4 separate regions of the Homo sapiens genome follow, and regions 2, 3 and 4 are each linked to region 1. The links are contacts of gene promoters, found by promoter capture Hi-C in blood cells and fetal thymus (Javierre and others, 2016). All regions are on one chromosome and are shown on one strand. The core of a region is centred on a gene start or on the middle of the fragment in contact, and the rest is flanking DNA. Distances in the headings are between cores, read along the strand shown. Region 1 holds the start of CDC42BPG (CDC42 binding protein kinase gamma). Region 2 has its middle 12 kb from the start of NAALADL1. Region 3 holds the start of SAC3D1 (SAC3 domain containing 1). Region 4 has its middle 8.4 kb from the start of BATF2.

What was found. The method cuts DNA at HindIII sites, captures the fragments that hold promoters and counts their contacts. A CHiCAGO score of 5 or more calls a contact.
Region 2: a contact is called between a fragment that was not itself captured here and the fragment with the promoter of CDC42BPG in region 1, in 8 of 17 cell types (endothelial precursors, M0 macrophages, M1 macrophages and 5 more). The highest score is 7.9, in endothelial precursors.
Region 3: a contact is called between a fragment that was not itself captured here and the fragment with the promoter of CDC42BPG in region 1, in 4 of 17 cell types (M1 macrophages, erythroblasts, endothelial precursors and 1 more). The highest score is 7.3, in M1 macrophages.
Region 4: a fragment that was not itself captured here is called in contact with the fragment with the promoter of CDC42BPG in region 1 in 5 of 17 cell types (M0 macrophages, M2 macrophages, endothelial precursors and 2 more); the score reaches 9.5 in M0 macrophages.

What each region holds. Positions count from the first base shown.
Region 1 is chr11:64,842,029-64,848,556 of GRCh38, reverse strand. CDC42BPG (CDC42 binding protein kinase gamma) reads left to right here and starts at 3,904. Exons shown (of 37, transcript NM_017525.3): 1 at 3,904-4,147. The coding sequence starts at 3,988. RefSeq lists enhancers at 949-1,018, 4,429-5,241, 5,266-5,560, 6,054-6,528 and silencers at 1,319-1,408, 3,725-4,074, 4,085-4,134, 4,165-4,214. The HindIII fragment of the contact is 2,728 bases long and covers 3,176-5,903 here.
Region 2 is chr11:65,067,263-65,073,790 of GRCh38, reverse strand. It overlaps a transcript of CDCA5 not described here. Among named protein-coding and RNA genes, the nearest start is that of NAALADL1, 12 kb to the right of the region's middle. The HindIII fragment of the contact is 9,772 bases long and covers 1-6,528 here.
Region 3 is chr11:65,041,163-65,046,504 of GRCh38, reverse strand. SAC3D1 (SAC3 domain containing 1) reads right to left here and starts at 5,295. Exons shown (of 2, transcript NM_013299.4): 1 at 4,639-5,295; 2 at 1,677-2,280. The coding sequence starts at 5,212. The coding sequence ends at 1,778. NAALADL1 (N-acetylated alpha-linked acidic dipeptidase like 1) reads left to right here. Exons shown (of 18, transcript NM_005468.3): 14 at 1-60; 15 at 143-316; 16 at 391-478; 17 at 591-683; 18 at 1,048-1,687. The coding sequence ends at 1,234. RefSeq lists an enhancer at 2,129-2,675 and silencers at 4,627-4,676, 4,697-5,342. The HindIII fragment of the contact is 205 bases long and covers 1,148-1,352 here.
Region 4 is chr11:65,002,086-65,008,613 of GRCh38, reverse strand. No RefSeq gene overlaps it. Among named protein-coding and RNA genes, the nearest start is that of BATF2, 8.4 kb to the right of the region's middle. RefSeq lists an enhancer at 975-2,174. The HindIII fragment of the contact is 2,934 bases long and covers 1,727-4,660 here.

The sequences.
Region 1 (6,528 bases), core at 2,655-5,154:
CCTGCACCTGGGGAGTAGTCGACCATGGAGGAGGCATTTGAATGAAGGTACCCTGGTGAGAAGGAAAGGAAAGAGGGTGGCCTGACTGCCTGGACAGGGTGTGACTGAGGCTCTCGGGGGTGTCTCCTGTCAAGACTCACCCATCCCTGTGAGCTGGGCCTTGGGCTGTGCCATGCTCAGGGCTCTGTGGGGAGCGTGTCAAGGCTGCTGTGGCCCTAGTGGTCTGGCCCCACAGGATCAGAAAACAGATCTGCTGAGCCAACATGGTGCCATGCCCTGGAGCTGCTTCGGGCAGTCAGGGCTGGAGGCCTGGCTGCTTGCTAAGGCTGGAATAAGCTCAGAAAGAGACTGAGCCTTTACAGACTTCCTTCCATTGGAGCTGCAAAGGAATGAGCAGGGGGCCCAACCCTCCCCCTTTATTTTTATTTATTTATTTATTTTGGAGACATGGTCTCATTCTGTCACCTAGGCTGGAGTGCAGTGGCACAATCTCAGCTCACTGCAAGCTCTGCCTCCCAGGTTCAAGTGATTCTCCTTTCTCAGCCTCCCGAGTAGCTGGGACTGCAGGTGTGTGTCACCATTCCAGGCTAATTTTTGTATTTTTAGTAGAGACAGGGTTTTGCCATGTTGACCAGGCTGGTCTTGAATTCCTGGGCTCAAGTGATCCGCCCACCTTGGCCTCCCGAGTAGCTGGAACTACAGGCTCTCACCACCACACTCAGCTAATTTTTAAGTTCGTTTGTAGAGATGAGGTCTCACTATGTCACCCAGGCTGATCTTGAACTTCTGGGCTCAAGTGATCCTCCCACCTCGGCCTCCCAAAATGCTGGGCTTACAGGCATGAGCCACCATGCCCGGACCCAACCCCCTTTTACAGACAAGGAAATTGAGGCTTACAAGACAGATGTGACAAAAACTAATAAAGGACCAGAAAGAATCACGTGTGAGAGGCGGGAGGTGCCGAATGCCAGTCCCAGCCCTGCCCCGTGCAGCCCTGGCCTCAGCCCTGGGACTCAGTGTCCACTCAGCTATACTGTGTGGGGATGGACAGATGGCTGGGGATGAACCTTTCTGAGAACTTACCAGAGAGGTTAAGGGACTTGCCTGAGGTCACACAGGGAGTGAGGCAGGGCCCAGAGGCCTCACCAGGGGTGTCCACGAGGGGCAGCGGAGGAGAGGCCCATCTTCCCACCCAGGAGCCCTTCCCTATCTCCGGTTCCCTAATGCTGGCTGGAGCGCCTGTCCCTCCTCTGGTCTCTGGCGCCCCCGTGTGGCCTCAGTGAGCAAGCCCCTTCCTACCTCCTGTGGGCTCCACCCCTGCCCCGCCCCTATAAGGAGGGCTCAGAATCTCTCAGGTGAGAGGGATCTGAACTCCTGCCCCCTCCCCCTTCCAGGAGACCAGAGGCAATGAAGGGGATCCCCAGAGTTTGGTTTGAATCCTGGCTCCCCATCCCATTCTGGTTGATTTAGGTAATACACCCAGACTCTGTTTCCCCAAACATTTCTCAGCCCATGGGCCCTGCGTAGCTACAGGGCGGGCCTCTGGGGAGATCACATGGGAGGCAGGGCGAGTCTGAGACCAGCCCCGGGCAATGTAGAGAGACCCCAGCTCTAAAAAAAAAATTAAAAATTAACCAGGCGTGGTGGTGCAGGCTTGCGGTCCCAGCTACTCAGGAGGCTGAGGTGGGAGGATCACTTGAGCCCAGTATGTTGAGGCTGCAGTGAGCTGAGATTGCATCACTGCACTCCAGCCTGGGTGACAGAGCAAGACCCTGTCTCAAAAAAAGGCTGGGTATGGTGGCTCATGCCTGTAATCCCAGCACTTTGGGAGGCCGAGGTGGGCGGATCACCTGAGGTCAGACCAGCTTGGCCAACGTGGCAATATAGTGCAACCCTGTCTCTTTAAAATAAATAAATAAATAAACAAATAATCACATGAAAAACCCTTCGTGGGGAGAAACACCCTGTTTGCTTCAAACATTCATGGAACACCTCCTCCCTCAACCTGATCCTGCCCCCATCTCAGCGAGGTCCCAGTACGAGAGGAGAGGCAAACCCCTAAACAGGTCTTTTAATGAAATAATGTGTTGGCCAGTGGCTACAGCCTGTAATCCCAGCGCTTTGGGAGGCTGAGGCAGGCAGATCACTTGAGTCCAGGAGTTTGAGATCAGCCTAGGCAACATGGCGAAACCCCATCTCTATAAAAAATACAAACATGGCTGGGCCCAGTGACTCACGCATGTAATCCCAGCACTTTGGGAGGCCGAGGCAGAAGGATCACCTGAAGTCAGGAGTTTGAGATCAGCCTGGCCAACATGGCAAAACCCTATCTCTACTAAAAATACAAAAATTAGCTGGGTGTGGTGGCACATGCCTATAATCCCAGCTACTTGGGAGGCTGAGGCAGGAGACTCTCTTGAACCTGGGAGGCAGAGGTTGCAGTGAGCCGAGATCGTGCCACTGCACTCTGGCCTGGGTGACAGCGTGAGACACCATCTCAAAAAACAAAACATCAGCCTGGCCTAGTGGTGTGAGCCTGTAGTCTCAGCTATTCGGGAGGCTGAGGTGGGAGGATCACTTGAACCCAGGAGGTTGAGGCTGTGGTGAGCTACGATTGCACCACTGCACTCCAGCCTAGGGGACAGAGTGAGACCCTGTCTCAAAAAAGAGAAAGAAGTGTTGTCTAGGCCGGGTGTAGTTGCCCATGTCTGTAATCCCAGAACTCCGGGAGGCCAAGGTGGGAGGATTACCTGAGCCCAGGAGTTCGAGACCAGCCTGGTCAACATAACAATAACCCTTGACTCCAAAAAGTAAAATAAAAAATCAGCTGGGTGTGGTGGCATCTGCCTGTAATCCCAGCTACTCAAGAGGCTGAGGCAGGAGCCTAAGAGGTCAAGGCTGCAGTGAGTTATGATTGCATCACTGCACTCCAGCATGGGTGACAGAGAGACCCTGTCTCAAAAAAAAAAAAAAAAAAGTGTTGTCTGAAGCCACCAATATGTCCCACCCTTTGATCTCTCCTCATGGTGCCTGGTCCATCCCAGCTGGACAGAAATCAGAAATACCACTGGACAGAGCCAGCCCCTCCCCTCCCCAACCTCCTCCAGCCTATCTCAGACCTCTCCTTGCCCTTCACGTTCCAGGTCAGACCTCAGGCCCTGCTCCTACTGAAGCTTAAAACGCCTGTGGTGTTGGTACCAGCCCAGCTCCACCTCCACCCCAGGGTCTAACTTAAGAGCCACCTTGTCCTCAGCCCCTCAATTCGCCTTCCTCCTTCCCAAGCCTCAGTGTGTCCATCTGCCAAATGGGCGTGACCATCCCTACCCCAACTTCCTGTCTCCCACATCAACTCTAATGATACAATCAAAGTAAGATTCAGAAACTTTTTTTTGGGCGGGGGCGGGGGGGCGATGGGTGCCAAGCGCGGGCAAACCATGGAGAGAGCGAACTACAATTCCCATCCGGCTCCGGGGCCGCGGGCGTCCCTAGCCCCTCTCTCTTAGCCAAGGGCAAGGCGGCTGCGACCCAGGGGGCGAGAGAAGTTGCAGTGCTCCGCGCCTCCTGGGTCAGGGCCCAGGGAGGGCCCAGGTAAGTCTGGGTCTGGGGCCGCGCGGGGATCTGGGGAGTCTTTCCGACCCCGCAGAACCCCACCGCGCCCCGCGCAGAAGTCAGTTGTTCTCCCCGGCCCGCCCCCGCACTTCCTGGCCGGGAGTTGGGCCCGCCCCCGCGCGCCTCCGCCCCCACCTTCACCTCTAGCCGCGGCTCCCATTGGCCGGCGCGCACCTGCCCGTCCGTCGGGGGGCGGGGCGCGGCGCCCAGGTGAGGGCGCGCTGGCGGCGGCGGAGGAAGGTGACAGCGGGGAGGGCGGGAGAGGGGCGGGGGAGGACGCGCGGACAGAGCCTCAGACGGTTGGGCGGACGGACGGCCCGACAGGCGGGCATGCGGGCGGCCAGACTGTAGCCGAGCAGCGAGGCTCCGGCCGCAGCCATGGAGCGGCGGCTGCGCGCGCTGGAGCAGCTGGCGCGGGGCGAGGCCGGCGGCTGCCCGGGGCTCGACGGCCTCCTAGATCTGCTGCTGGCGCTGCACCACGAGCTCAGCAGCGGCCCCCTACGGCGGGAGCGCAGCGTGGCGCAGTTCCTGAGCTGGGGTGAGTGGCGGGGCGGCACGGAGCGGGGGCGGGCCTAGGGATATCGCGCCGAGACCCCCGCACCCGCAGACTTTCCCGCAGGGACCCGCACCCCCACGGGCTTCCCTCGCAGACTCCCTGCAGTGGCCCTGACGCGTACCACCGGACCCCCGCGGCCCGCACACTCGCCTGCACACCTCACCCTCACTCCAATTCTCACACACGCTCTCTCCCTCTCACAGACCCCGACACATGCACACACATACCAACTTGTGCTCAGGTATCGACCGCAGACGCATGTACCCAGTGCACCGCCTAGAGTCCCTTACAGATTTCCTTGCTTACAGGCCACACCTGACGCAGGACACACACAGACCCTCATGCATGTCACCCACTGATACACGGGCTCTGTTTCTCCTTCCTCTCGGATGCATTGAGACACACAACTCATGGAGAGACCCAGGGAGCGCTGCAGACCACCCCGACCGCATTGGCACTGCAAAACACACAGATCTGTAGGTATCGCACACTTGCAGACCTTCCCCCCACCAACACACACACCCCCAGCTCCCTGGGTACAAGACCACTGCAGCCTGGACTCAGGAACCGATCTCCAACCCTTGGCCTGTGCAGGCTGCTGGCCAAGCTCCTTGGGGGCTGTGGCGCCGGGGCCGGGGAGGGGGGCCTAGCTGGAGATGGGTCTGTACCTTTCCTGGTAGACTCATCTGAGTCATTGGGAGTGGCTGGCCCGGGGTGACCCTGAACCCACTGTGGGCACTGGCGCCAGCTGGAGGGTTCCCTGGTCACACCCTGCCGGGCCATGGGGAAAAGGCACGGGGGCCTGGCCAGGGCGGGGTGAGGCAGGTGTTTGCCCAGTGGGCAACTAGCGTTCCTGGCACTCCTGAGCTCTGGGAAGGCACAAGGCCTGGGGTAGAGGGGGAGGCTGCCACCTAGATGTGCCAGGGAGTTGTCCCCTAGCCCCAACCCTTCCATCCAGGGCGAGGCAGTCAGAGGCCCCTGCCTCTGTGCCTGTCTCCCTGGTATGCCTCCGTGCTATGCCTGTCTGCCTGTGTTGTTGTCACCCCCCCCATGACACCCACACACGTGTGTGTGTTTGCACACACATGTGTGCTCCTCCCTGACTGCCTCCAGCACCTCTGCCTGGGACCCCGGCATGGGGGCCCTCTGTTGACAATCTCCCAAGGTAACTCAAAGGGCTGTGACTCATTCCTCTCCTGCTTGTCTCTACTTGTCCCTGCTCCTGCCCGGAGCCCCCATGCCCTGTGGGAGGCCAGAGGATTAGGCAGCCTGTCCAGGGGCCTGGATCCTCCTGCCTGTGGGCCTGGGCTTCGGCCCTCTTCTGGCGGGTGGGTCCCTATGGTGCTGGCTTCAACTCCCACGGGGAGGCCCGGGGCTGCTCCTCCCCAGCTCCACACACAGACCTGGGAAAGAGACAATGAATTTCTGTAATGAGGTTTCCACCCCGCCCCCGCTGCGGGCTTCTGCCTGATAAACCTGTGGAACAGCTCTCTGTCCCACCCACAGACCCGCCCAGCTGGCAGGGAGTTTACCTCCTGGCAGGGGGAAACTGAGGCAGGGCGCCAGACCACAGCTGCCCCCCATCCTGACTGATCACTCCTGCCTCCCTAAGACCCAATTCCTTCCCAAAACCTGGGGCTAATCCAGGCCTGGAAAGTGCCTGGGAGTGGCTGGAGTTGCCCTTCCTGGAGGTATCTGGGATGTGAGGAAAGAGGACGTTCTTGACCAGACAAAAGCTTCGTCCAGACAGGGAGGCAGGGCTGGGAGTGAGAGAGCCGGTCAGGCCTGGAGGCATCCTGAGCACTCACGCCTTCAGGGGCTAGTGCTAGCACCAGGGAAAGGCATCTTTGTCCTGTTTGTGAGTCTCAGCACCTTGGCAGACTGGCATCCATGCCTCCAGCCTGAGGGGCCCCACGTGGGAAGCATAGAGCCTGTCCTCCCTGCCCTAGGGGCTGCAGGCCTCACCCCCAACCAGGCACCTCTATGCCTACAGGGTCCCGGGACCCAGGCCCACAGCTCCTGAATGGGAGAGAAGCCTCTCTGGGGATAAGGAATGTCACCCGTCCAGTTTCCTAAGACAGGCCCTGGCCTGAACCTGTGAGGGGGCCAAGAACTGTGAGGTGGGGGTAGGAATGGTGTCCCCATGGTCCCCAGGGTGACCTGGCCAAGCAGAGTCAGGCCGCAGACTGGGCAGGACTACAAGTCCCATCAGCCCCTGGGATGGAGGCTGCCTAGAGTCTGGGGCCAGGGGTCCAGGGAGGTCCAGGGACCAGGCGGTCAGCTGAGCCCGGCCTCTGACCTTCCGCACTTCCTGATCATGGCCAAAGGAGCACCAGTTCCTGCCACAACCCCTTGGCCCGAGG
Region 2 (6,528 bases), core at 1,359-3,858, 230 kb before region 1:
GCCTGCCCTTTGAAGTCTCTTCTTCCCGTGAGTTCTGTGACTCCCCAGCATCCTCCCAATAAACTCCTTTTTGCTCAAATCAGCCAACATTGTTTCCTGTTTGCACCCCAGAACCCTGGCTGGTCTAGGGGGCTCCTGACACCTTAGTGGGGCTCATGAGGACTCCAGGCCGAGGCTGGTGTCCAGGCTTCAGCCCACAGACCCACCGCAGGCTGCGAGCTGCTTGGAGGTCCCTGCCTCTGAACCTTTGCTCTCTGCCTCTCGTGTCTTTCCCCACTCCTGCGTCACCTGGGGAGCCCCGCGTCATTAAGTCTGGCTCACGCGTCACCCCTGCTCAGCCTTTCCTCCCCACCTGCCCCACCCTGGTGAAAGCAAAGAGCACAGGTTCTGCAATCCAACTGGGTTTGAATCCTGGCTCTGCCAGCTTCTAGCTGTGTGATCCCAGGCAAATGATAATAATTAGACTCTGATGTGCCTCAGTTTCCTTAACAGTAAAATGAGGACAATAATAATACCTATGCCACAGTGTTTAAAAATGAGATAGTCGGCCGGGCGCGGTGGCTCACACCTGTAATCCCAGCACTTTGGGAGGCTGAGGTGGTTGGATTACTTGAGGTCAGGAGTTCAAGACCAGCCTGGCCAAGATGGTGAAACCTCGTCTCTACTAAAAATACAAAAATTAGCCGGGCATGGTGGCGGGCACCTGTAATCCCAGCTACTCGGGAGGCTGAGGCAGGAGAATCACTTGAACCCTGGCGGGTGGAGGTTGCAGTGAGCCAAGATCATGCCACTTCACTCCAGCCTGGGTGAAAGAGAGAAACTCCATCTCAAAAAAAAAAAAAAAAAAAAAAAGAATGAAATAATACAAGTAAAGCACTTGGTGCATGGTAAGTGCTCAATGAACAATTTTCAAGTAGAACTGACCATTCCCTCCCTTTTTAAGTCTCAGAAGTCCACACAGACCTCCATCATAGCACCTTCAAGCTCCATTCTGTCTGCTCTGCACACACGTTTACACAGTAGCTGTGTAAACTCCAGCTCAGGCTGGAGGCAAGGTTGTATTTGTCTCTGTCCCCCCAGTGTCCAGGCACATCATGGAGTAAGTGGATGTGGTGGTTTCCCACCAGCCTGGGCAGGTGTGCCCCTCCAGTGGGAGCTGGGGACAGGGGCTTCAGAGAGCCTCTGAGTGCCTGGTAGGAGGGGCACAGGTGGAGTCAGGAGTGATGGCACCTGGCACCCTGCCTCAGTCATGAGCCTCCCACAGCACAAATTCTAGTCCCACCAGTGTGCATGTGAGGTCTGAAGCCAGCCCCATGGCTCACACCTGTCCCCATTTCTTGGAGAGTGGACTTCACCCTCCCTCTCCACAGGGCAGTTCCCCACACAGCCTATGGACCCCTCCCTCCTCGCCTGGGTCCTCAGCCCGGTAGCTCACCACCCTTTCAGATGAGGCTTTGGCTCAGGCCTGGTGGTTCTCCCAACACATGGGCCTAGACCAGGCTGCCTTCCCCTCTCCACAGTGTGGCTGACAGGTTGGCAGGCTCCCTGACAGCCACCTGCTTGGGTATCAGTCCACCCACATCTGAGACTCTTCTTGAGCCATGGTTTTCTCTTCTGAAAAGTGAGGCCAATTCCATCTCTCTAACGGAGTTGGTCAGGAGGTTGATGTCATATGCAAAGCAGCCAGCAGAGTTCCTCATCACTGATGGCTAGTAGCATTTTACCCAGCCTGTGATTAACCCCTCAAAGGAGGAGATTCATTTTTGTACCTTCTCAACATTCAGGGAAGGGCCTTCAACAAAGTTAGGGCTCAGTCAATATTTGTGGAGTTGAATACCCATTTCACAGGCTAGGAGGCTGAGCCCGATTTCCTGCAGCTGCCCCACCTATGAGCAGCAGAGCAGGACTGAAATCCAGGTCCTGAGCTATCTTCTGTCCAAGTCTGAATTAAGCATCTGTCTGTGCTTGGCTGGTGGGACCCTGAGAGGACCCCAGTCCTGTCTGTCTGTCTATCTGCTCATCCTCCTCACGTACCAACTGGTAACCGTGGAGCTTTTCATGCCTCCCAGTGTCCTCTGATGGGCACCAACATGTGGCCATAGTGTTAGAGTTGCTAGATTTAGCAAAAAATACAAGATGCCCACTTAAGCCTGAATCTTAGATAAACAACACAATTTTTAAAGAGTAAGAGTGCCCTTGCCTGCAATCCCAGCACTTTGGGAGGCCGAGGCAGGCGGATCACCAGGTTAGGGGTTCGAGACCAGCCTGACCAACATGGTGAAACCCCGTCTCTACTAAAAATACAAAAATTAGCTACTCAGGAGGCTGAGGCAGGAGAATTGCCTGAACATGGAAGGCAGAGGTTGCAGTGATCCGAGATCGCACCACTACACTCCAGCCTGGGCAACAAAGCGAGACTGTCCCCAGGAAAAAAAAAAAAAAGGAATAACTGTTTCCCAAATCAGAGAAATAATAGATAGTTTTCTAGTACAAGTATGTTCCATGCCACATATGGGGTATGCATATGTGGGTTGAAAATCCAAAATCCCGGCCGAGCACGGTGGCTCACACCTATAATCTCAGCACTTTGGGAGGCCAAGGCGGGCAGATCATGAGGTCAGGAGATCGAGACCATCCTGGCTAACACGGTGAAACCCCGTCTCTACTAAAAAATACAAAAAATTAGCCGGGTGTGGTGGCGGGCACCTGTAGTCCCAGCTACTCGGGAGGCTGAGGCAGGAGAATGGCGTGAACCTGGGAGGCAGAGCTTGCAGTGAGCCAAGATTGCACCACTGCACTCCAGCCTGGGCAACAGAGCGAGACTCTGTCTCAAAAAAAAAAAAAAAGAAAAGAAAATCCAAAATCCCAAACTGTGAGCACTGCCCTGACATTCACTGTAGCATTTTGGATTCTGGATTTTCAGATAATGCTAATATTCCAAAATCCTAAGAAATCTGAAATCCAAAACACTTCTAGATAGGCATTTTGGAGAAGAAATTCTCAACCTGCCTGGGTTCAGTGGCTTATGCCTGAAATCCCAGCACTTTGGGAGAGGAGGAGGCAGGAGAATCACTTGAGCCCAGGAGTTCGAGACCAGTCTGGGCAACATGGTGAAACCCTGTCTCTACAAAAAATACACAAATTAGCTGGGTGTGGTGCCAGGCCTGCAGTTGTAGCTACTCAGGAGGCTGAAGTGGAAGAATCATCTGAGCCTGGGAAGTCGAGGCTGCAGTGAGCCATGAGGGTGCCACTGCACTCCAGCCTGGGCGACAAAGTGAGACCCTGTCTCAAAAGTAAATAAAGTCTCAAAAAAAAATTCATCGTTTATCTGAGATCCCAATTTAACCTGGCATTCTGTGTTTTATTTGGCAACCCTACGTGGGTACACTGGTACCCAGCCCATACCACCGTTAAGACCCACTTTTGTGGTGTGACAGGGTCTCATGCACACCTTCTCCAGGATTAACAGAGTTTAGACACTTGTCACATGCAGCAGTTGGTGGCTTGCCTCTCTTCCTCACTTCCAGGGCCCTTGGCATCCTGGCCCCAGTGTCTACGCCTTCCACTCACCCTCTGAACTATGGCCAAACAGCCCACATAACAGACACACAAAGATCCCTATGCCTCCTCGTCCCCTGTGGGCTACAGCCCAGGCCCTGTCTTGGGCCCTTCGCAGGACCCCACGGCTCTTGCTTACACCATTCCCTCTTCTGGTCTCCCCTGCGTCCTTGTTTGAGACCCGGCGGCACATCCTGTGTGCAGTCTCTCTGGAGCTCCGAAGCAGAATGCATGGCTCCCTCCTCTTGCAGCCAGGGCTCGCTGTACAAACCTCTGTGTGGCTCATCCCCCCGCACTGTGGTCAGCTGCAAACCTGAGGCCTCCCTCATCTTCCGGAAACTTCTGCGCAGAACCAGGTTGTGTCCATCTATATGTTCCCAAGGCCTACGCCACAGGCAATGTTTACAGGGACCAGTAAGCGCATGAGTGAATTGTATCCTACCATGTGAAGAAGTCTTTGTTTCCTTACCACTTCTTATATTTGGGCCTTTTAGGCCCCTTCCAGTTTTTCTTCATGGTGTAAATCAGCTACTGTGGTCGTCCATGTGAATTACTTTTATTTGGAGTTGTTTCTTTAAGCCGTTTCCAAAGTGAGGTTCTCAGAGGCATGACTCTCCATCGTTCTGTGGATCTTGTTATACGCAGCCAGGTTCTCCTGGTGACAGAGCTACCTATTCTCCAGCAGCCATACCACGCTGGAGCTCTGGGACTTTCCAGGGTTACGGGGCCCTCTGCAGAGCTGTCGGTTTATGTCACGTGGTCAGGAATTGTGTAATTTTAGGCTGCCTAGAAAGGTACAATATAACACAGCCACAAGCCCAGGCCACAAGCCCCCTGCCACAAGTCCATGGGGATCTAGAGGCGCAGGTGGACTCAGTGTGAAGAAGGACCATGTCTGTGGTTACTTGGCCAGTAGATGCACAAGATTCTGAAAAATACCGGGGTGAAAAATAGCCACAATTCTATTAACTTCAGCTTTTTTTTTTTTTTTTTTTTTGAGAGTCTCGCTCTGAAGCCCAGGCTGGAGTGCAGTGATGCAAACACACCTGAGTGTAGCCTCAACCTTCCAGGCTCAAGTGATTCTCCCACCTCGGCCTCCCAAGTGGCTGAGACTACAGGCACACGCCACGATGCCCAGCCAATTTTTTAATTTTTTGCAGAGATGGGGTCTTGGTGTGTTGCCCAGGTTGGTCTCTAACTCCTGGGCTCAAGCGATCCTCCCGCCTTGGCCTCCAAAAGTGCTGGGATTACAGGCGTGAGCCACTGCACTCAGCCTCAAAATATTTTTAGCATGTAGTTTGGCAGGACTGCCAGATAAAATACAGGACACCTAGTTAAATTTGAATTTCAAATGAACAGTGAATTGTTTTTTAGTGTAAGTATATCCCAAACATTGTGTGAGACAGATACTGAAAAAGTATCCATTTTCAGCTGAAATTCAGATTTCACTGGGCCTATATTGTATTTACTAAATCTGGCAACTTTCACTTTGAGGGGGTCTGGCTTGCTGGACAGAGCTGGTGATAGACGCTCGCCAGGCTGGAAGCCGCCCCCTAAAAACCAGACCAGGCTAGAAATGGCATAGCGGGGATGGTAGATGTGAGTGACTAGCAGGCTTCTGTCTCTCTCAGTCTCTTAGGGGCAGACAAAGAGCCCACTCCAAGCTGGCCAACAAGCCAGTGGTGCAGCCTGTTGAGGAGCAAGAACCCAAGGGCCCTCAGGCTTCCGAGGAGCGGAACTTGGAGGTGATGGGAAACCCCAGGGCCTCCTAAGGCAGTGGGCAGGGGAGGCAGGAGAGCTGGAGAAATTCTTCCTGTATCTGAATGGAGGCCTGAACCCCCGTCGTCACACCCAGCTTCCAGCTGTCAGGGCGTCCAGGCCCAGCTCCTGGGTTCAGGGCTGAGGAATGGGTGCAGGGGAGTTCAGCGCTGGAGGGCCTCCTGGACAGGTCCCATTCATACCTCCTACCAGGCTTTCCCTACAGGGTGGGGGATACAGACGATGGGGCCCCTGAAAGACAGGGAGATGGCAAGGATGGGGGGTGTGGGAGGACCCAGGCTCTTGGGTGAGCAGCCGTGACCCTCTCCAGTCACCTTGGCGCTTTCTCTGCAAAGCCACCTTCCTCAGAACAACTGGAACCCACCGTCACGTTCCTGTTTACACTCCTGAACACCTCTGAGCCCACTGAGCCAAAAGACCCTGAATCGTAAGGCTGCATGAGAGAGAGAGAGAGAGAGAGAGTGCCCATGCAGGCACATGCAGGCACGCACAAAACTGGGGGAGGTGGATGGTGTTTCTCCCCACCCCACACCCAGAAACATTCAAACCTGGGCTAGGACTCAGTCCTGGCCCGTGCAGAGAGGAGGCCCAGAGAGGCCTGCTGAAGCCGGGGCCTTTGGCTGGGCACCCCCACACCACCCACCCACTTCCCTCATCCCCTAGACCCTCTGGCCTGACCTTCACTACCCACTTGCTCCAGGGACTCGGAGATCCAGGAGTACCAGTTCTTAGATCAGGAGGACTGGGGCCCCCAGCGGACCTCAAAGGAGATCAGGCAGTTGCAGAATGACTGCATGAGGTGATCTGGGCGGGCAGATGGGAGCGGGTAGGGTGACAGGGCTTCCCCCGACCAAGGCCAGGCCTGGCTTTCAGGTCAGGGCCCACGTGGCTGGTGAACGGGCATTCAGGAACCCCCACCTTTAATTGTCCAAGAACTTGAGGAGCGTTCAGTCTGGGGGAGGGGCTTGTTCTCTGGATGTCGGGCTCTGGAGCTGGGGTCCACACAATCCCATGGCCGCTCGCCCCTCTCAGGTAATGCTGGGGTCAGAGCCCCATCTGTCAGCAAAGGTCCTGAGGTGGGGGCAGGGCATGACGGAGGCTTCCAGGCCATAGACCTGAGTGATCAGCTCTCCCATTCATACACAGCTGACCTGGAGCGCCTAGGCAGGGCTGGTTCCAGCATTGGCCCTG
Region 3 (5,342 bases), core at 1-2,500, 200 kb before region 1:
ACCCCACCTACCACACAGCCTTTGACACCTTTGACTATGTGGACAAGTTTTTGGACCCGGGTGAGGAGGGAGACAAGGGGCATCCTGAGACCAGGACAGGAGAGGCTGAAGACTGAGCCCTGGCCTTGTCACCTTGCCGCAGGCTTCAGCAGCCATCAGGCTGTGGCCCGGACAGCGGGGAGTGTGATTCTCCGGCTCAGTGACAGCTTCTTCCTGCCCCTCAAAGTCAGTGACTACAGTGAGACACTCCGCAGCTTCCTGCAGGCAGCCCAGCAAGATCTTGGGGCCCTGCTGGAGCAGCACAGCATCAGCCTGGGTATGCACAGCCCTGACCCTGAGGTATGGGGAGCCCTGCACCCCCATGACTGAGCCACTGCTTGTTCCTCACAGGGCCTCTGGTGACTGCAGTGGAGAAGTTTGAGGCAGAAGCTGCAGCCTTGGGCCAACGCATATCAACACTGCAGAAGGGCAGCCCTGAGTGAGCAAGGGCAGCGGGCAGGGGCTGGGAGGGCAGCACCCAGGGCAGGATACCAGGCTGGTAGCTGGGCTGCTGGCTCCAGGGTGACTGGCAGTTCCTGCCTCCCCACCAGCCCCCTGCAGGTCCGGATGCTCAATGACCAGTTGATGCTCTTGGAACGGACCTTTCTGAACCCTAGAGCCTTCCCAGAGGAACGCTACTACAGGTGAGTCTGTCCCAGAGTCCTGGGAGGTGCCTCCAGGTGGGGCCGGACAATGGCTCCCCACCTGAGACGAGGTGGTCAGCTTCTCTGCCCTTTAGAGTGCAACCCAGCCCCTGAAGAAGATGGGAATGTAAGGCTCAGGGAGGGGAGGAAAGTTGCTTGAGGGTCCCTCTGGGAGCTAGGACTGGAACCCACATTTCCTCCCCCGACCGCCACTGCTGTAAGAGCTCCCTGGCCTTCAGAGACAAGTGGACGGGGGTGCTTTTCTGCCTCGCTGCGTACAGGAGCTGAGCCAGTTCTAGGCCCAGGCTTCTCTTTCCTGGCCCCTGACTGACTGACCCTGATCCTGTCCCATTTCTCTTGTCAGCCATGTGCTCTGGGCACCTCGCACGGGCTCCGTAGTCACATTCCCGGGCCTATCCAATGCCTGCTCCAGGGCCAGGGACACAGCTTCTGGATCTGAAGCTTGGGCTGAGGTCCAGAGACAGCTCAGCATTGTGGTGACAGCCCTGGAGGGTGCGGCAGCCACCCTGAGGCCTGTGGCTGACCTCTGACCCCAGCCCTCTTTCTTCAGCCCTCCCTTTACTCCAACCCTCTCCTGCCTGCTTTCCTGAGATGTCCTGGTCTTCCTTGGTGCCAGAAGAGGGCACTACCACAGGACCCTCTCAAGCTTCTCAGGCAACAGCTTGAGGTCCCTGAGGGGAGTGGCAAGCCCTAATGCAACTCACCCTCATCCTGGTGCTTAGGTGGCAGAGGGTGGGCAGCAGGGGACAGGGATGGGATGGCAAAACCACCAACTGCCCTTGGTGGCAGGTGGGTGGAGATGGGATGCGTGCCAACCTCAGATGCCAACTCAGGTCATCAAGGCCAAGGACCAGTGGCGAAAGTGAGTCTTGGGGTACCTTAGGCCTTGGCTAGTCTGCGTTCCTCTCCCTGCATGCTGTGTATCCTAACTCCCTACAACAGCCCCTCAAATAAATCACATCTAGTGACTGGTACCAACAAAACAAGTTCCTTTTATTACCTGGAAACCATGGAAAAAGAAACCTAAGTGCTCTGGCCCAGTCCTGGGGCTCTGGGAGGCTCACGCTCCCTCCTCAGGCTGGGGACCCAGGTCTGTCCGTGCCCTCATCTTCCTCCTCTGCCATGACCACCTCCTCCAGGGTACGTCCTCGAAGTTTGCTCTCCACTAACACCTTGCACGTACTGGCAGGCGGTAGCCCTTCCTCCACGTAGCGACCCCTCAGGAACACAACTCTCTCCTCTCCGTCCAAGGGCAGCCCGTGGGCCTGGCACAGGTCCCGTGCTTCCCTGAGTCCATCCAGGGCCAAGAGGTTGACCATGAAGCCCAGAGGCAAGGTCTGGCCCTTGGGGGTGCTAAAGGCACGAGCGAAGCGGGCCAGGGCTTCCCGGCGGGCATGGCCCACATGGCACTGCACAGCGCAACTTGGCAGGTAGGGCAGGGTCTGGAGCAGACGGAACAGGCGGGCAGCATTGCCCTCTCGGAAGGCAGCATCTACCGCCAAGGCCTTGCGGAGGGGCGGGCAGGCGCGCAGGGCAGCAGGCAGCTGTAGAACCTCATGCAGGGCTTCCACCGAGCCTGTGAGAGCGGGAAGCCAGAATGAGGACGCCTGGTCCTTACAGGATCAGGCTCATCTCCCCTCCCAACACCCTGTCCTTCCTCTCTCCTCGACCACGCCCCTTCTCTAGGCCTAGCCCAACTTCCCTCTCCCCTCTAAGGGCCAGCCTTTGGCTCCTTCCCCAACCTATATTTGAATGAGTGGCCTCAGGCTCTTGACTTCCTGCAGTCCAGATCCTTACTTACAACACTGAAGTGGGCAGGGTTTACGGATTTGGGAAGCTGGCCCAGATAATTGAATGATTCGCCTGAGAGTGTCCTAGGGCGGGTATGTAGTTGAGCCTGACCCCAGTCCAAGTTTTCGGACTTGGATTTCCCACTACCCTGGCTTCCCTGTACCCACAGTTTTGGAAGCCAACTCTGCCCCACTTTCCCCTGACCACCTGGGAAGGCCCCTTCCTTCAGGAGACTCTGCCCTTGCTTCCCTTCTGGAAGAGTCTCAGACACTGGAACCTTGGCCCTCATTTGTAAACTGGGGCTTCTGACCAATAAGTAGGTTGTGAAGTCAACAGCATTTTGTTAAAATTGTATAGGGCAGGGCCTTTTTTTTTTTTTTTTTTTTTTTTTTTTGAGACAGACTTGCTTTGTCACCCAGGCTGAAGTATAGTGGCTCTTGGCTCACTGCAATCTCCACTACCTCCCAGGTTCAGGTGATTCCCCTGCATCAGCCTCCTGAGTAGCTGGGATTACGGGTATGCACCACCACACCCAGCTAATTTCTGCATTTTTAGTAGAGAGGGCCCAGCCAGAACAGAGCTTATTTGGGCACAGTGGCTCATGCCTGTAATCCCAGCACTTTGGGAGGCCAACGCGGTAGGATCACTTTAGCCCAGGAGTTTGAGAGCAACCTGGTCAACATGGCAAGACTCCAATCCCTATATAAAAATAAATTTTAAAAAATTAAAAGAAAAGAAAATCATGGTCCTGCCACTACTACTGTTAACCAGTGCTGTGTCAACAGGCAAGTCACCTCACCACCCTGGGCTTCGATTTCTTCCCCCACTAGACCAGGGATAATTACCATGCCTTCTTCAGAGGAACAGTGTGGACAAAAATAAACCATTCACTGGGCATGATGGCCACACCCGGCTACTTGGGAGGGTGGGGCAGGAGGATCACTTGAGCCCAGGAATTCGAGTGGCAACATGCGAGATCCCATCTCTACAAAAAAAATTTTTTTAAGTTAGCCGGGTGTGATTGCATACATCTGTGGTCCCAGCTACTTGGAAGGCTGAGGCAGAAGGATCCCTTGAGCCCACGAGGTTGAGGCTGCAGTGAACTATAATTAAGCCACTGTACTCCAGCCTGGGCAAGAGTGAGACCCTGTCTCAAAAAACACAAACAGGCCGGGTGCAGTGACTCACGCCTGTAATCCCAGCACTTTGGGAGGCAGAGGTGAGCTATCATTTTGAGGTCAGGAGTTCGAGACCAGCATGGCCAACATGGTGTTGGCCTGTCTCTACTAAATATCCAAACACTAGCCGGGTGTGGTGGTGCACGCCTGTAGTCCCAGCTCTTTGGGAGGCTGACGCAGGCGAATAGCCTGAACCCGGGAGGCGGAGGTTGCAGTTAGGCAAGATCATGCCACCGCACTCCAGCCTGGGCGACAGAGCTAGACTCTGTCTCAAAAACAAAGAAAGAAACAAATAATAAGAGTTTATTGGAATGCATCGCCCATAGAAAGTATCTCTAATGCCTTAAACTTCTGTCTCAGGTATATTCGTGGGCATATGTGTTCTTGTTTGCTTGGTAACCCTGACTGGGCGGGGAGGTTAAAAGAGTTTGAAAATCAGCCGGGCGCGGTGGCTCACGCCTGTAATCCCAGCACTTTGTGAGGCCAAGGTGGGCGGATCACGAGGTCAGGAGTTCGAGACCAGCCTGACCAACATGGTGAAACCCCCGTCTCTACTAAATACAAAAATTAGCTGGGTGTGGTGGCGCGCGCCTGTGATCCCAGCTACTCAGGAGGCTGAGGCAGAAGAATCGCTTGACCCAGGGAGGCGGAGGTTGCAGTGAGCCGAGATCGCGCCACTGCACTCCAGCCTGGGCGACAGAGCGAGACTCAAAAAAAAAAAAGTTTGAAAATCACTATTTAGACCAATTCTCCCTTTCCACCCTTGCCCCCTCCACTTTTATTCCTGAGACAACTAAGACCCAGAGATGGGCCCGAGGTCCCACGTCGGGGCTCGGTGGATCTTGTGCTGTCCTGGGAGGGGGCTAATGGTGAGATGTTAAAGCTAATCCTTCCTTTCCCTACCTCCACTGTCATGGTGGGCTCCTGTCCCCACGCTCTGCCCAGCCGCCAGGATCCCGACTCACCCAGGTTATAGAGCAGAAAGAGGCCCTGGAAGGCGGGTTGGCGGGGGTGCGGCCCGGCGCCCCGCGCGTAGCAGCGCCGCAGCGAGCCGAAGCCCTCCTGCACCTGGGCCTGCAGCAGCACCGGGTCCGCGGGTCCCCGCGCCGCGTCGGGCCCGAGCCGCGCCACTACGGTCAGCAGCGTGGCCAGCGCCGCCTCCAGCACCACAGCTGCCTCGGCGTCGCCCGCTCCCTGCAGCGCCAGGTCCAGGAGCACAGCTCGCAAGCGGTCTGCCACGAAGCTGGCCACCTCGGCGCGGGCGATGTCGGCGCTCTCCGCCACCTCACCGGCCAGGTAGCGCACGGTGGCCAGCAGCACGGAGGGCGGACGCAACTGGCTGGGCGGGGGCCGGGGCTTGCCGGCGGCGGGTCGGCTGTACTCCTTCACCGCGCGCTGCGGATCCGCGCGGGGCGGGTCCTGGCGGCAACCCGGCACCACCTCCAAGCGGTGCAGGCGGTGCTCCCTTTCGCGCTGGGCGCGCTCGGCGGCCGGGCACATGTCCGGGCAGGTGCCCACGGGCAGCTCGCAGCCGGGCATGAGGGGGCTGCGGGGAGACGGTGGGCGCTCAGCATCCCGGGGACGGCAGTGCTGCGGGAAGGCACGCGAGGCCGGCCGGGGGGTGGGGAGCGGCGGGTCGGGGCGGGGCTGAACCTGTCTGGGCCCGCCT
Region 4 (6,528 bases), core at 1,944-4,443, 160 kb before region 1:
TACTTGGGAGGCTGAGGCACGAGAATCACTTGAACCCTGGGGGTGGTGGGCGGCAGCGGAGGTTGCAGTGAGCCGAGATTGCGCCACTGCACTCCAGCCTGTATGAGACAGAATGAGACTGTCTCAAAAGAAAATTAAGAAAAAGAAGGAGCAAGTTATGATTGTGTTCATGTGTGAGAAGCAGCACTTATATCTGGTGTAAATTGCTCCAGATTTCTTACACTTATAAAGGAGTCTCACGAAGAGATGGGAAATTGGGTTCTCTGGATTCTTAGTTTTCCTGTTTAACCCTTCACTGTCATTTGTTGCCCTCTGTGGACTTGCCTTATTTTTCTGCAGTGTTGCAGCAAGTGAAGTATTCTTCATGCAGCTGCTCATGAAACCTTCACCGGGAGGCGGCAGATATCTGTGTTAGAGGAGTCTCTTTCCCTTATAGATGATCTAAGTTAAATTACTACCAAGTCTAGAGTGCACCAGCTTCAGACATGAGGCCCAAACGATGTCATTGGGAGTCAGACTCTTCCTCTATCTGCTGTCCTCCGGGCTGGCTACATTCTCAGGCAGAACCCGCTCATGGGAGTAGGACGGCCACCAGAAACACCAGCTTAGTATCACCCCAGGGGGGCACATCCCCAGACCCTGTCACTTTCCCAGTAACTCCAACAAAACTCCCAGGCCTGTCCTTCCTTGGTCTGGCTTGGGTCATGTGCCTATTCCTGACATCAATCACTGTGACCAGGTGAGATTGGCAAGGCCAGGACCCCAGGCCCATGCTGGAGTGCAGGGTTTGGGTCACCTTGTTGCCCAGGCTAACCTCAAAATCCTAGGTTTAAGTGATCTCCCCACCTTGGCCTCCCAAAGCATTGGGATTACAGGCGTGAGCCACCATGTCTGGCCTATTTAATTCTTTTAACCTACATTGTTTATATTAGATTGTTTATAATAAAGTTACAGTTTTAATGAGAAGACAGAAAACCTGTTTTCCCTCTCTGATAAGACAATCTAGGATGCCAGTCTTATTTTTTGGACCACATGCCTGTGACAGAGGCACCAGCAAGCACGTGCTGGCAGCTTACCCAAGTGTAGGTTTTGTCCTACTAATTAATAAGCAAAGAACTGGAAGCACAGAGATGGCAACTGCATACAGACCATAGTTCTGCCCTCCCACTGCTAATCTTCCGGCAGGTTTTTTTTTTTTTTCTAGACAGTCTCACTCTGTCACCCAGGCTGGAGTGCAGTGGCGCAATCTTGGCTCACCGCAACCTCCACCTACCGGGTTCAAGCGATTCTCCTGCCTCAGCCTCCCGAGTAGCTGGGATTACAGGCATGCACCACCATGCCTGGCTAATTTTTGTATTTTTAGAAGAGATAGGGTTTCACCATGTTGGCCAGGCTGGTCTTGAACTCCTGGGTTCAAGTGATCCACCCAGCTCGGCCTCCCAAAGTGCTGGGATTACAGGCGTGAGCTGCTGTGCTCAGCCTATGTAGGTTTTACATATCCAAAGGCAGCCAGGTCCTCAGTGCTGGTCAGTGATGATTCAGTGGGTGTGTACATCCTGCATGCCACTGCTGCATGCCTCATAAGACAAGTCAGAGTGTTCAAGCATCTGCATTACAGGTCTTAGCCCAGCTGCCTGTGTGGGAGGCAGCAGAGGCATCCTCTCCAACTCCAGATGACAAAAGGAGGTGTTATTCACCACGCAAAGGCACATGACATCTGCAAGCTTTTCCAGAACCTTAGGAGGTAGAAAGGACTTGAAAATCTGAGATCTTCCAACAGCCATGTGCTCGTACACCTCACCTGTTGCCTGTGGCCCCTCAGGAGCAAAGCTGTGCTAGATGCTTCTTGCCTCCATGGGGCCAGGCCTGGTGAATGAACGCAGGAGCGCAGCTGCTGCCCCTGGTTGCCCGTGTCCTGCTGTGCCCTCACTCCGGAACCTAAGAGGCAGGTACCACTCTTCTCTCCGCATGACAGACCCCCCCACCCACTCACCTGGATCGCTGCAGCAGCCTCCTGACCGGCTTCCCTGCTCCCCTGCTCCAAGGCACAGGGACCCTTTTTTATTTAATTAATTAATTATTTATTTATTGAGACAGAGTCTTACTCTGTCACCCAGGCTGGAGTGCAGTGACGTGATCTTGGCTCACTGCAACCTCCGCCTCTTGGGTTCAAATGATTCTTGTGCCGCAGCTTCCAGAGTAGCTGGGACTACAGGCATGAGCCACCATGTCTGGCTAATTTTTGTATTTTTAGTAGAGATGGGGTTTCATCATGTTGGCCAGGCTGGTCTCGAATTCCTGACCTCAGGTGATCCACCTACCTCGGCCTCCCAAAGTGCTGGGATTACAGGCATGAGCCACTGCGCCTGGCCAACCTTTTTATTTTTTATTTTTATTTGTTATCATTATTATTATTATTTTGAGATGGAATCTCACTCTGTCACCTAGGCTGGAGTGCAGTGGCGTGATCTCGACTCACTGCAACCTCTGCCTTCTGGGTTCAAGCGATTCTTCTGCCTCAGCCTCCCGAGTAGCTGGGATTACAGGCATCCACCACCATACCCAGCTAATTTTTGTGTTTTTAGTAGAGACAGGGTTTCGCCATGTTGGCCAGGCTGGTCTCGAACTCCTGACCTCTGGTGATCTGCTCACATCTGCCTCCCAAAGTGCTGGGATTACAGGTGTGAGCTACCATGCCCAGCCTATTTATTTATTTTGAGACAGAGTCTTGCTCAGTGGTGCAATCTCGGCTCACTGCAGCCACTACCTCCTGGGTTCAAGTGATCCTCCCACCTCAGCCTTCCAAGCATGCACCACTACGTCCGGCTAATTTTTGTATTTTTTACAGAGGTGGGTTTTCATCATGTTGGCCAGGCTGGTCTCGAACTCCTGACCTCAAGTGATCCTTCTGCCTCGGCCTCCCAAAGTGCTGGGATTACAGGTGTGAGCCACCAAGCCCGACCAGGGACCCTTTTAACCTATGCATCAGATCATGTTCTCCTCTGCTCAGAGCTCTCTGGTGCTCTCTGTATCTTTCAGAGTAAAAGCCCAAGGTTCTCACTGGCCTATGAGCCCCTGCATGAATGGCCCGTGGCCTCCACCCCAATCTCTTGCTCCCTGGACCCTGCCAGTCCCAGGAGTCCACTACACCACTCTGCCCCCCGACCCCAGCCGGTACCTCACTGTCACGGCTCTCTCGTCTTTAATTCTTTGCTCAAAAGTCCAATGTCAGAAACAATTTTTTTTTGTTCAAATATCTCAACGAGGCTCAGTCTGACCCCGCTATTTACATGTGAAATCCCCTACCCCACACTCCCCATGGCCCTTACCTAGCTCTCTTTTCCCCTTGGTACCTGTGGACTCCCACCAGACTAGATAATTCACTTAATGTAATTATCGTCTCCCTGCTCCTCCCTAGGATGGAAATTTCACAAGGGCAGGATTTGGATCTTTTTTTAAAAAACAGATGTCTCCCAGCACCTAGAGCAGGGCCTGCCACATAAGAGATGCTCAGGAAATAGTTGCTGCGTGATAGAAATAAGGATAGAGGTTTGTGAATTGCTTTCTAGCTGCTCACACGGACAGGAAGCAGCAGGGCTTCACCAGCCTTGTTCTTACCATCAGGTTTCTCAGCCCCCCAAACTGAGGCAGACCCGGCTCCCGCTCTCTGAGATCCCCACAGATTCCAACTCCCACACCAGGCCCAAATCAAAAAAGGCATCTTGGCTGGGCACGGTGGCTCATGCCTGTAATCCCAGCACTTTGGGAAGCTGAGGCAGGTGGATTACCTGAGGTCAGGAGTTTGAGACCACCCTGACCAACATGGCGAAACCCCATCTCTACTAAAAATACAAAAACTAGCTGGGTGTGGTGCAGGGCATGGTGCTGGGCACCTGTAATCCTAGCTACTCGGGAGGCTGAGGCAGAAGAATTGCTTGAACTCGGGAGACAGGGGTTACAGTGAGCTGAGATTGCGCCACTGCACTCCAGCCAGGGCAACAGAGCGAGACTCTGTCTCAAAAAAAAAAGGGCATCTCATAGGTACTGCTTCCTGACGGGTGGTGGGAAGGGAAGACTGAGCCCTGTAGTGGAAGGCAGATGGCAGTGCTGGGGGAGGCACCCAGGTCTCTGTCTGCAGCACCAGCCTCGGTTCATTGCTAGTCCCTTGTTTAGAAAAAGGCCTCCCAAGAGGCACAGGCAGGCCCCGGCCTCCAGCACAGCAAGAAGGACCCTGAGAAGTCATTGTCAAGTTCCTTCATTTTATTTTATTTATTTTGAGACAGGGTCTCACTCTGTTGCCCAGGCTGGAGTGCAGTGATGTGATCTCAGTTCACTGCAACCTCTGCCTCCCAGGCTCAAGTGATCCTCCCACCTCAGCCTCCTGAGTAGCTGGTACTACAGGCTCATGCCACCATGCCCAGCTAATTTTTGTTTTCGTTTTTGGGTTTGTTTGTTTGTTTGTTTGTTTGGTAGAGATGGGGTCTTGCTGTGTTGCCCAGGTTGGTCTCGAACTCCTGGGCTCAAGTAATCCTCCTGCCTTGGCTTCCCAAAATGCTGGGATTATAGGTGTGAGCCACGGGGCACCTGCTTAAGTTCCTTCATTTTACACATGAGGAAACAGGTCCAGAGAGGGCACAAGGCTGTCTGAGACCTCGAAGCTTGGTGAACGTGAGCTGCAGGTGAACTCAGTTCTCCAGAGGACCCCATCCCCAGACTTTCTTCTAGATGGGGCCCCCTTTCCAGCTCCTGGGACCCTGGTCTGGGGCCTCTGGGAATCAGTCCTGCTCCTGCAGACCAGCAACAGGTACAAATGCTCCCTGCCGTCTAAGGGTGTCCTGTGCCCCTGTTATTTCCACTCCAGGCCCCGAGATGTTTTCTGGATCAGCGAGGAATAAGATGAGAAAAGAACATGGAGGCTGCAGCAGAACCTGGGTCTGCCTGTTTCTGCCGCCTCCTTGTACTTGGCCAGTTCCCCTCTTCTTGCCAGGCCTCAGTTTCCCCAGTTGCAAAACAAACTGGAGAATCTCTGGAGTCCTCTGGCTGTGACTGACTGCTGACTTGCATGGCAAAAGCTCTCCTGCACCCTTGGTGCTATCCTTGGTGCTATCCTTGGTGCTGGTTCTGCCAAGGGCAGCACTGCCTTGTCTGTTGCATTTTGAGTCGCTAGCTAGTCTGGGTTGGGCTTCATTTCCCACCCCACTGCACACCAGCCAGCCCTCCAGTCCCTTGCTCCGTGAGCTCGGCTGGCCAGTTCCCGGCACCAGCCTCCACATGAGGCCCTCCCGTCTTTAGGGGTAACTAGGACAAGAGCGAGGGACTTATCCTTTCTGAGGTCACTGGTGACCACTTTCCATACTTTGTTTCAGTCATCATGGCAGCCCTGGCAAAGTGAGGGAATTATCACCATTTTACAGACAAGGACAATGAGAACCCAGAGAAACCAAGGGCCTTGTCCAAGCTCACACAGTAGCAGGACAGAGCGAGGATTTGAACCCTGGTCTTTCCGGGGCTTGAACCGCCTGGGAAAATCTAGGAGCTATGGTTGCAACTGCCATTTGCAAACAAACAAAGCCCTGGGATGCTCTCAGACTCTTCAGAGCTCAGCTGTTTATAATTTATACTGCCTTCCCATTTCCAGAAGTTCCAGACCGCTTCCCAGAAAGATGTGTAAGTACATTAAAGGAATGGCAGAGACTCAGAAGCTCAAGGCATTGGAGGTGGCAAAGGGCCAGCAGGACTGGGGGTTGGGGAGGGGAGTGAGCGTGGGAAGGTGCACCGAGGACCGGGCAGTGAAGAGCCCCATAGAGCCCAGGGGAAGTCACTTAGTTCCTGGGAGGCCCAGCTAGTTGCAGACTCCAACTTTTTTCATTTTTATTTTTTGACACAGAGTATCTCTCTGTTGTCCAGGCTGGAGTGCAATGGCGCAATCTCGGCTCACTGCAACTTCCGCCTCCCAGGTTCAGCGAATCTCCTGCCTCAACCTCCTGAGTAGCTGGGAATACAGGTGTGTGCCACCATGCCTGGCTAATTTTTGTATTTTTAGTAGAGACAGGGTTTCACCAGGTAGGCCAGGCTGGTCTCGAACTCTTAATTTGCCAACCTCAGCCTCCCGAAGTCCTGGGATTACAGGTGTGAGCCACCGTGCCCTGCCCAGACTCCATCTTTAATGAGCGCTGAAATGTGGTATGCACAATGTGCTGAAAGCAAAAGTCTGTTCTTCTCTCCCCACGCCCTGGGGAGTCTCCATGATGTGGCTTCCCCTGTCCCTGCCCAGCATTCAGTACATCTGGAATCATCCTTTGGCAAGCCCTTGCTTTCCTGTCCACGGGTCCTTGACTGCTGGGACCTTCCTCCGCATCTTGAGCAGTGTGAAATAATGGACAGGAAGAGTGCCGGGCTTAGTATCAGAGATACGGGGGAATTGGAGTCCATCTACCTGGGGAGGTGACCAGAGCCCGGGACGTGCTGCTGAGTGGCAGCTTCCTCATGTCGGAAGCTGAGCTGAGGTTGTGGGATCAGCTGGCATCT